Regions from separate parts of the Homo sapiens genome. Here all the other regions are linked to region 2. The links are contacts of gene promoters, found by promoter capture Hi-C in blood cells and fetal thymus (Javierre and others, 2016). All regions are on one chromosome and are shown on one strand. The core of a region is centred on a gene start or on the middle of the fragment in contact, and the rest is flanking DNA. Distances in the headings are between cores, read along the strand shown.

Region 1 (2,700 bases), core at 131-2,630, 3.0 Mb after region 2:
AATTTATCATCCTCTTTATCAAACTCTTCCCTTGATGCTTCCAGTGTTTAACTAGACTCGAGAATTCCAAAATAGTTACTTCAGACAGTTTTTGACAGTTCAATAGTTTTCTCAGTGGAGGAACAGATTTCTGTAGCTTTTTAGTCTACCAACCTCTATGACATCATTCTTGCTTGACTTATTGTTTTTATTTTATTATTTTTTTGAGATAGAGTCTCACTCTGTTAGGCTGGAGTACAGTAGCATGATTTCAGCTAACTGTAGGCCTCCACCTCCCAGGTTCAAGCAATTCTGCTGCCTCAGCCTCCTGAGTAGCTGGAACTACAGGCGTATGCCACCATGCCCAGCTAATTTTTGTATTTTTTAGTTGAGATGGGGTTTCACCATGTTGGCCAGGCTGATCTCAAACTCCTGACCTCAAGTGATACACCCGCCTTGGCCTCCCAAAGTGCTGGGATTACAGGCATGTGCCACTGCTCTTGGCCTTGTTTGATTTATTTTGAAACAATGTTGCTAACTTCATACAAACTTAAAACTGGGTTTCTACCAATACTTTTCTAATCCTTATTTGCACAATTCTGGCTCACAAGTCAAAGAAGGCTCTGGCTTGCTTGCCCTCTGGGCCTGTTCCTGCCACGAATATTAAGGTAATTTTAGATGGTTCACTGTAAAATATAATACATGCTAGGTTACTCTTTCGTTATGCAAAAAAAAAAAAAAAAAAAAAAAATCAATGTAAAAGCAGATGTCTAAACCTACCTCTTAGATAATTTCACAGGAAAACATATCCTTGTAGGGCTGAATCTTTGATTCTGGCCAGAACTATTTTCTTACCAGTTCCTGGAAGCTTTCAACCTGAGCAAGATCAGCATCTTGTGAGTCACAAAACCTCTGACTTGATGTCCAGTTCTTGGTGTCATCAGAAAAATAGAAACACTTTCTTTGAAAACCAATCCAGCTTTCTGGGCATGCAGCTTGAAGACATACTGATGGCTCTTGATGGCAGTTAGCTCTTATTGCTGAAAATAAAATAAAAATAAATAAAATAAAAATTTCTTACTTTTATATTGTATTGTATAAATTACCAAGTGCTAATATACTTTCTGACACTCCTGTTAAGTATTAAATGTATTATTTTCATTTTTCAAGTGAGAAATATGATGCTAAATATAATTGCATACATTACACAGCAAATGGCAAAACTGAGATTCAAACTCATGCCTTCAGCAGGGGGTGAGCTGAAAAAGGAGTTATTAGTAACTTAAGCTTGCTCTGGGCCATGTATCTATTTGGCTCTCAACAGTGTTACCCTTTCTTAAAATATTAGATACATTAATGATAGCATTTGATCAGCTTTGGAGAACAGATAGTTCTCCAAGTGCTCTAGATTAGGGGTCCCCAACCCCTAGGCCATGGATCAGTACTGGTCCATGGATGAGTCAGGAAGCAGGCTGCACAGCAGGAGGTAAGCAGCGAATGAGTAAGTGAAGCTTCATCTGTATTTACAGCCACTCCCCATCACTCACATTACCTCATGAGCTCCACCTCCTGTCAGATCAGCAGTGGCATTAGATTCTCATAGGAGGGCAAACCCTATTGGGAACTTCTCATGTGAGGAATCTAGGTTGTGGGCTCCTTGTGAGAATCTAATACCTGATGAACTGTCACTGTCTCCCATCACTCACAGATGGTACCATCTACTTTCAGAAAAACTAGCTCAGGGTTCCCACTGATTCTACATTATGGTGAGTTGTATAATTATTTTATTATATATTATTACACAATGTAATAATAATGGAAATAAAGGGCACAATAAAAGTAATGCACTTAAATTATCCCCAAACCATTCCTTGACCCCAGTCCATGAAAACGTTGTCTTTCACAAAACTGGTCCCTCATGCCAACAAGGTTGGCGATTGCTGCTCCAGATGACTTGGTAAAATGAAGGGCAGGATAGAGATGCCTTATGTGAATAAGGTTTCTTGATGTGAAAAAGCCTTGTATATGTCTAAATACTATCATAAATATGAAATAAGTTGTTGTACAGTGAACTTCCTTCCACTAAGGAGATTTAGTGAGGTTTTCTACACTTTGAAGGCAGCAATACTTCACTGGACAGGCTTTTCTGACCCACTTCTTATATAATCAGGAGAAATGCTCTCTTCATGTGGGATCGAGATGAATGAATGTCTCTCCAGATAGTTGTCACTGAGCCCCTAGTAGCTACCAGTTCATCTTCTATTATATAACCACCTTCTACCTTCAACTCAATGGTTCTGAAAGTGTCTATGATAGACCAGAATGCTGGGTATTCATAGAATCATTACTATCAATTGGCACCATTATCCTTGGATTTGGCTCTTGTGAGATGAGAAATCACTCTTAGTTATGAATAATAACTGGTGTAATCTGAATAACAAATCATAACATGAGGCAAACGTGTATTGTATCTGGTTTGGTATCACAAACAAGGTGATACCAAATTATAACTATTAAAATGTAATTTCTTGAACCAGACCATAATGCAGGATGACTTTCCCCAAATCTGTGCATATTTGTTGTGCTATCACTGCTCCTGTATCAACCAATTTAAAGAAAACGACCAGACCAGAGAGGGCAAGATGGCTGATTAGAAACAGCTCTGGTCTGCAGTTCCCAGTGAGACCAATGCAGAAGGCAGGTGATTTCTGCATTTCCAAC
Region 2 (2,700 bases), core at 1-2,500:
CCCTAGCCAGGAGGCGGACCGTTGATAAACATCCCAACTTTGTCACATACCTAGGAGTTGCTAGTGAGAGGGACCGCGATGTATTAAGTTAGGGAAATTATCGGATCTTACCATCTCCAGTTTCTGACTTAAAAGTCACAAACAGACAAGCAGTGGGCCAGGTAGCACTGAACACCTAAGACCAATAAAGTTAGCTCTCCCAAAGCTAAATCAGAATACGCCGAAAAGCAAGCTAAGGTTAACACCCTCCAGCAGGCAAAGCGGGGCCCCAAACACATTCTATGGTTGGGAAAGGGTCATTACCGTCGGTTGCAGGTCGCTTCCTTATTCCTGCGCATTGCTCCGCTAACCCCGTCTGGCTGTCCGACGGATCAGTCTTTGGGTCCACCAAATGCGTGTCCTCAGAGTTAGCCGGAGCCCCAATTAAAGGCGCCGCCGGGCGGCTCCCGCTGACATCCTGGCTCTCCTGCGCCGGCACCTTGCAGGCACCTTTGGGGGGCCGCGGGGGTCTGTAGTAGAACTCGGGCAAGCTGCCCTTCTCCACCTCTTGCCACTCGTACTTGCCCTCTAGGGGTTTGTGATTCTGAAAATCGAAATTCCACTTGCGCTGGCTCGCCTCTTCCATGTCTCTGCAGTGCTTCTCCAAGTCCCGGGTTAACTCTTCGTGGTCCACCGGGCCGAAGAGGTTCCTGCAGGCCGAGGGCTTGGGGTGCTCCGCCTGCCTGGCGTCCATCCGCTCCAGGCTAGGGCTCCCGTTAGACACTCGCACGTTTGACATCTTTCTCCCGGGTCTGCACGACCGCCTCTCTCGCACTCTCAAAAAAACAAAACCGAACAAAACAAAGCGCCCCTACGCAGCCCGAACCCCTCTCGGAAGCCCAGCGACTGCCCTCGGAGCCAAAAGACACAGACCCCGACGAGCCACGGCCCGAGCTCTAGGAGCGCGCAGGGGCTGCGGGGAAGCCCCGGCCCGGCCGCCGAGTCTCCGCTGATCAAATGGACTGGCGAGCGGGAGGGCGGAGAGGAGAGGGGACCAGGCAAGCGGAGAGGGTGGCAAAGCCCGTCCGAGTCTGGGCGGGTGCAAGCCCGCGGGTCCCGCGAACCCAGCCGCTCTCCAAACCTTGCCGGCGTCGGAGTCGCAGAGCCGTGAGCAAGCGGGGACAGGGGAGGGGGAGAAAAACACCCCGAAAAGACGAGCCCCCTTTTTTTAGTGGCCCAATATGGCGGTGGAAGGGAGGCTGACGAAGAAGAAAATGATTGACACGGCGAGTCTATTTAAACAGAGGAGGAGATCCATTGGTTGCGGCGGCGGGAGCCGCCCCGCCGAGGCTGGCGAGCGCGGCCTTAAGGTGGCCCCGGCGCGGTTCCGCCACCTCCCCTCGTTCCCGAGCGCGCCGCCTCCCCGAGCGCCGCCGGGAGATTGGCTGGTCGCGTGACTGCTGGAGGGGTACTGCTGCCAACAAACCTGCTCTGGCTGGCCTCGGAGAAATTAAAATTAAGACAAACAAACTAGCCAAACGGCCGGGAACCTGGGGCGGGGCCTGAGGTTCGGGGCCCGGCGCTGCGTTGGCGGGTTCGCCGCGGCGCCTAAGCCCCGACCTCCCTCCCGCTCCTCGCCCGGGAAGCCGGGACCTGGACCAGAGGACCGCGAAGGTCGCCGGCAGCTCGCTAGGAGCCGGGGTGGCGAGCTGCCCCCAGCTCGGCCCTCCCCAGCGGCCCCCACCTCGTGGTCTGCGGGGGAGGCCGCGGAGCGTTTGCTGGGGGGGCTGGGCGCCCCCCCGCCGGCGTGCCTTTGCTGGGGGCTGGTGGAGGCAGTGGGCAATGGTTCGCTCAGCCTTAACCCAGAAGTTTCTGCCATCCCTGGGGAGGCTGGGGGCCTAGGGAAGAAGCCAAAGCGAACGTCTTTCTTTTAGAAATTAGCCAGGAGTAGACGCGGCACTTATCATGAACTCAAGCTCTCCCTCAATGAAAATAAGAAAGGAACTCAAGATTAAAAAAAAAAAACAAAAAACTCTAGTCTCTCAAGTCCCTTAATAAACTTTGTAGCTGTCTCAGACACGTTTAGTTTTGAAAAACGAGGGTACACCCCTGGCCCAGGATCTTCCTTCCCAAGCACAGTTAAGGCCATGGACATTGGCTGCGTGTGGGAACTCGTCCCTTTCTACTTTTCTGTTCTTTCCCGGGATTGTAGCAGTTTCCTCTACCTGAGTCCAGCCGCCAAATACAACAGCTCCTTCCTTCCTCCACCCTTCTCTCTCACCAGATTTCACTGCTCCAACAAACTCAGAACAATATTCAGATGCTAGTGAATGCTTTCAGAGGGCTGAAGGGTGAAAATACTCCCCTCGGGGTCAAACTCCAGATGATGAAATGATTTTTAAAACACCACAACCATGTCCTAACGTCCGATACTAGTATTCCAGCGTTTCTCTTCTCCCTTTTGCAGCTGGAAATTTCTCTCTCAGTGTGGGCTTGAGCACCGTGGTGGAAGGTAAAGTAGGACGATGAGCAGGGCTGCCCTGAGACAAAGCTCAGTGGATCTTCAACTGCCTCCCCACCCCCATGCCCGGTACCCATCATCTTGGTTTGAGCCAAAGTTAATGCATTTTACTGGAAACCAACCTTCCGTTCTAATATTACACAGCAGCAAAGTTTTCTTAAGCACCTATGCTACAGATGAGCTTGATGTGTAGCTTGTTT
Region 3 (2,700 bases), core at 140-2,639, 3.1 Mb after region 2:
CCTAAGCAGTCAAAGCCTAATAAAGACACCATGAAGCACTGGGAATTATCTTGGTAAAACACAGAATCTTTGTTTTCTAGGCCAGTGACCTTGATCAGGGGAATACATTTAATAACAACATAGGAAATCCTAGTAACAAAACAATTTTGACACATTAAGAAAAAACAACAATATAGAATCAAGTTTTGCTGAAGTAAAATGTTGCCTTTCTAGACCTTTAAGATAAATCCCAAACCAGGACTAGACAGTTCTCAGGAAGGAATGTGGCAGAAATAGGAATTAGTTTGTAATTCAGAATGGCTGTTAAGGAAACATTGCAGAATTAAAAATCAAAGCCTCTTGTAATCTTACTAAGAACAAATCAATATTTTAAGAGACTCATATTGTTTTAATGTAGGAGACCAAAATTTAAGTTTTGTATCAGTGCATCTTAACATCAAAGTTCCATTTTTTCCAACTTTTATTTTAGATGTAGGGGATACATGTGCAGGTCTGTTACTTGCAGTTTTTCCAGGGGCATGGTGGAAGCTGCTGCTGATTCCACCATTCTGGAGTCTGGAGGATGGTGGCCCTCTTCTCACAGCTCTACTAGGTAGTATCCCAGTGGGGACATAACTGGCAACTGTAGACATAATTGTTTGGCTTGCTACAAATCCATTTTCTGTTCATGTAGATTCTGCCACTGTTGACTCCATTGTCATTCAGGAAGGCACATTCTCCACTTCCTCTGATAGCAAGCCTAAATCCAAACACAAAAATATTAAATATTTGTAAGTTAGACACCTGCATTTGTTCCTCCCCATCATCTTCTGCAACCCCTCCATATTTCAATGTGAATAAGAGAAAAGCAAAAGTCTGTCATTAATATTGCTTCATAGTAATATAAACCATTTCTGTATTTAGTGTCCTTTATGTCCTCAAGGTCCTTGCTTGAAAATCACAAGCTTATCATTCATCCATACCAAGCCCAGCTATGTTGATAGGTATTTAACTGATGCTTGCTGCTGTACCCAAATGAACTGCTGCCATTGGTGGTCTTCAGTCAAGATGATTTCCAGCCTCCTCCCAAATTGTTTTGTAAATGTGTGAAAACTAAAAAAAAAAAAAAAACTAGTAAATTCCTGAAAGGGCTTAGCTTTGATTAATGGATATGACTGGGTTCCTACATTTTATCTGCTGCAATGTAATGATTATATTCAAAATACCCCTTTGAAATGTTCACAGTCCAAGGAACTGTTACTAGTTTCCTTCTGGTGATAAAGCTTTAGGAGGGAGAGATTCCCATGAGTTCCCTGGATGCTTTCCTATTGTAAATGGATGCAACACCTGCAAGAGTGGGCTTAACAGCCTTGTGGATATCAGCTCCTCAGTGGCTTCCTATGATTGTAGAACCTTTGTTGCACATCAGCTATAAGTAGGGATTTCAGCAGTTTTAAATCAGTGGATGAAAGTGTAAAATTGTGAGAAATGTCACTGTCACATTAAAGACTTCAACTGAAATCACAGGTAAAGCTTTCCCAAAGACACAGCTAACCAACTGAAGAGCATAAAAAGGGTTTAGATTTCTTACCTCATATTGCAGTAAGTTTTCCATGATACTACATTTCTTATCTCATAAACACAACTCACACACATAACCATACATAAACACAGCAAAAGATGAGAAGTCTCAAAACATACATGTTATTATATTCCATGTTGTCTGTCCATTTCCAAATGCGATGGGATGATTCTCTTCTAAGGCCAATCCAATGGTCAGAAGGGCCTTTGTATCTTTTCAGGAAATTCTATAATAAAACAGAAACTAACACCATGAGCCCCTTTCTTTCATATTACTCTGGAGTCTCTCTTCCCTATCCCTTCTCTTTTTCACTGGCAGCGTGGTATAATTAAGCAGCATAAATTCTGGAGTGAGACTAATTCCCAGTTCTCAGTTTAAGTCATTTAACGTCTCTGATCCTAAATTACTTTATTTAAAGTGAGCATAAATCCCAGTTTCATTGGGAAATTCTCAGTTTATGCTTGTCATTCCACCAATGTATTAATGATCACTTTTAATGCCCTATATGTCTTAATCTAGATGACAAATTATATAATTACCTTACTTCTTAATAGAATGAGAACAATACATCTCATCTTACCAGCTCACCATGAGCATTACATGGGGAAATATATCTAAAATGTCTCACAGGGTTCCAGGCAGAGAACACACCCTCAACAAATGTTAGACATGAAAACACATCTCATGCCCCTGGAATGGGATCCTTCTTAGTATTTCAGCTTTAACCCTATGTAGCCGACCTGCCTCAGGGGGCTAAGTATTTAACAGAAAACATGATCCAAAAATATCTCTTACCAGTTCCTCCATAGTTGCAAACTGAGCAAGGCTGGCTTCTAATGAGACACAGAACGTTTGACTCAATGTCTAATTTCTTATGCCTTCAGAAAAATAAAAACATTTACTCCTAAATCTAATTCAGCTTTTTGGGCAAGCAGCGTATTTAGATGACTCTACCACTGGCTTTTCCTTTCTTGCTAAAAGTGAGACAATCACAATGAAACATAATAAAGAAATTTTCTCACCCATTTTATCTATTTTTCTGCTTACCTTCCTGAGGTCAATTTTGAAGTGTACATATCTGATTGTTGTTTTCCTAACTCATCACAAAGTGCCTTATCCTAAGCACAACAATCGTCAGT

The links. Contacts are between HindIII fragments. The CHiCAGO score rates a contact against its expected background, and 5 or more counts as called.
Region 1: a contact is called between a fragment that was not itself captured here and the fragment with the promoter of CDKN1B in region 2, in 1 of 17 cell types (non-activated CD4 T cells). The highest score is 5.3, in non-activated CD4 T cells.
Region 3: a contact is called between a fragment that was not itself captured here and the fragment with the promoter of CDKN1B in region 2, in 1 of 17 cell types (non-activated CD4 T cells). The highest score is 9.3, in non-activated CD4 T cells.

The regions. Positions count from the first base shown.
Region 1 is chr12:9,686,221-9,688,920 of GRCh38, reverse strand. It overlaps CLEC2D (C-type lectin domain family 2 member D), which reads right to left. Exons shown (of 5, transcript NM_013269.6): 3 at 835-1,019. Among named protein-coding and RNA genes, the nearest start is that of LINC02390, 16 kb to the left of the region's middle. The HindIII fragment of the contact is 224 bases long and covers 1,269-1,492 here.
Region 2 is chr12:12,715,918-12,718,617 of GRCh38, reverse strand. CDKN1B (cyclin dependent kinase inhibitor 1B) reads right to left here and starts at 1,250. Exons shown (of 3, transcript NM_004064.5): 1 at 304-1,250. The coding sequence starts at 778. It also overlaps a transcript of GPR19 not described here. RefSeq lists silencers at 684-872, 1,297-1,866 and enhancers at 1,047-1,146, 1,227-1,276. The HindIII fragment of the contact is 7,251 bases long and covers 1-2,700 here.
Region 3 is chr12:9,654,960-9,657,659 of GRCh38, reverse strand. It overlaps the pseudogene LOC374443. Among named protein-coding and RNA genes, the nearest start is that of CLEC2D, 13 kb to the left of the region's middle. The HindIII fragment of the contact is 250 bases long and covers 1,265-1,514 here.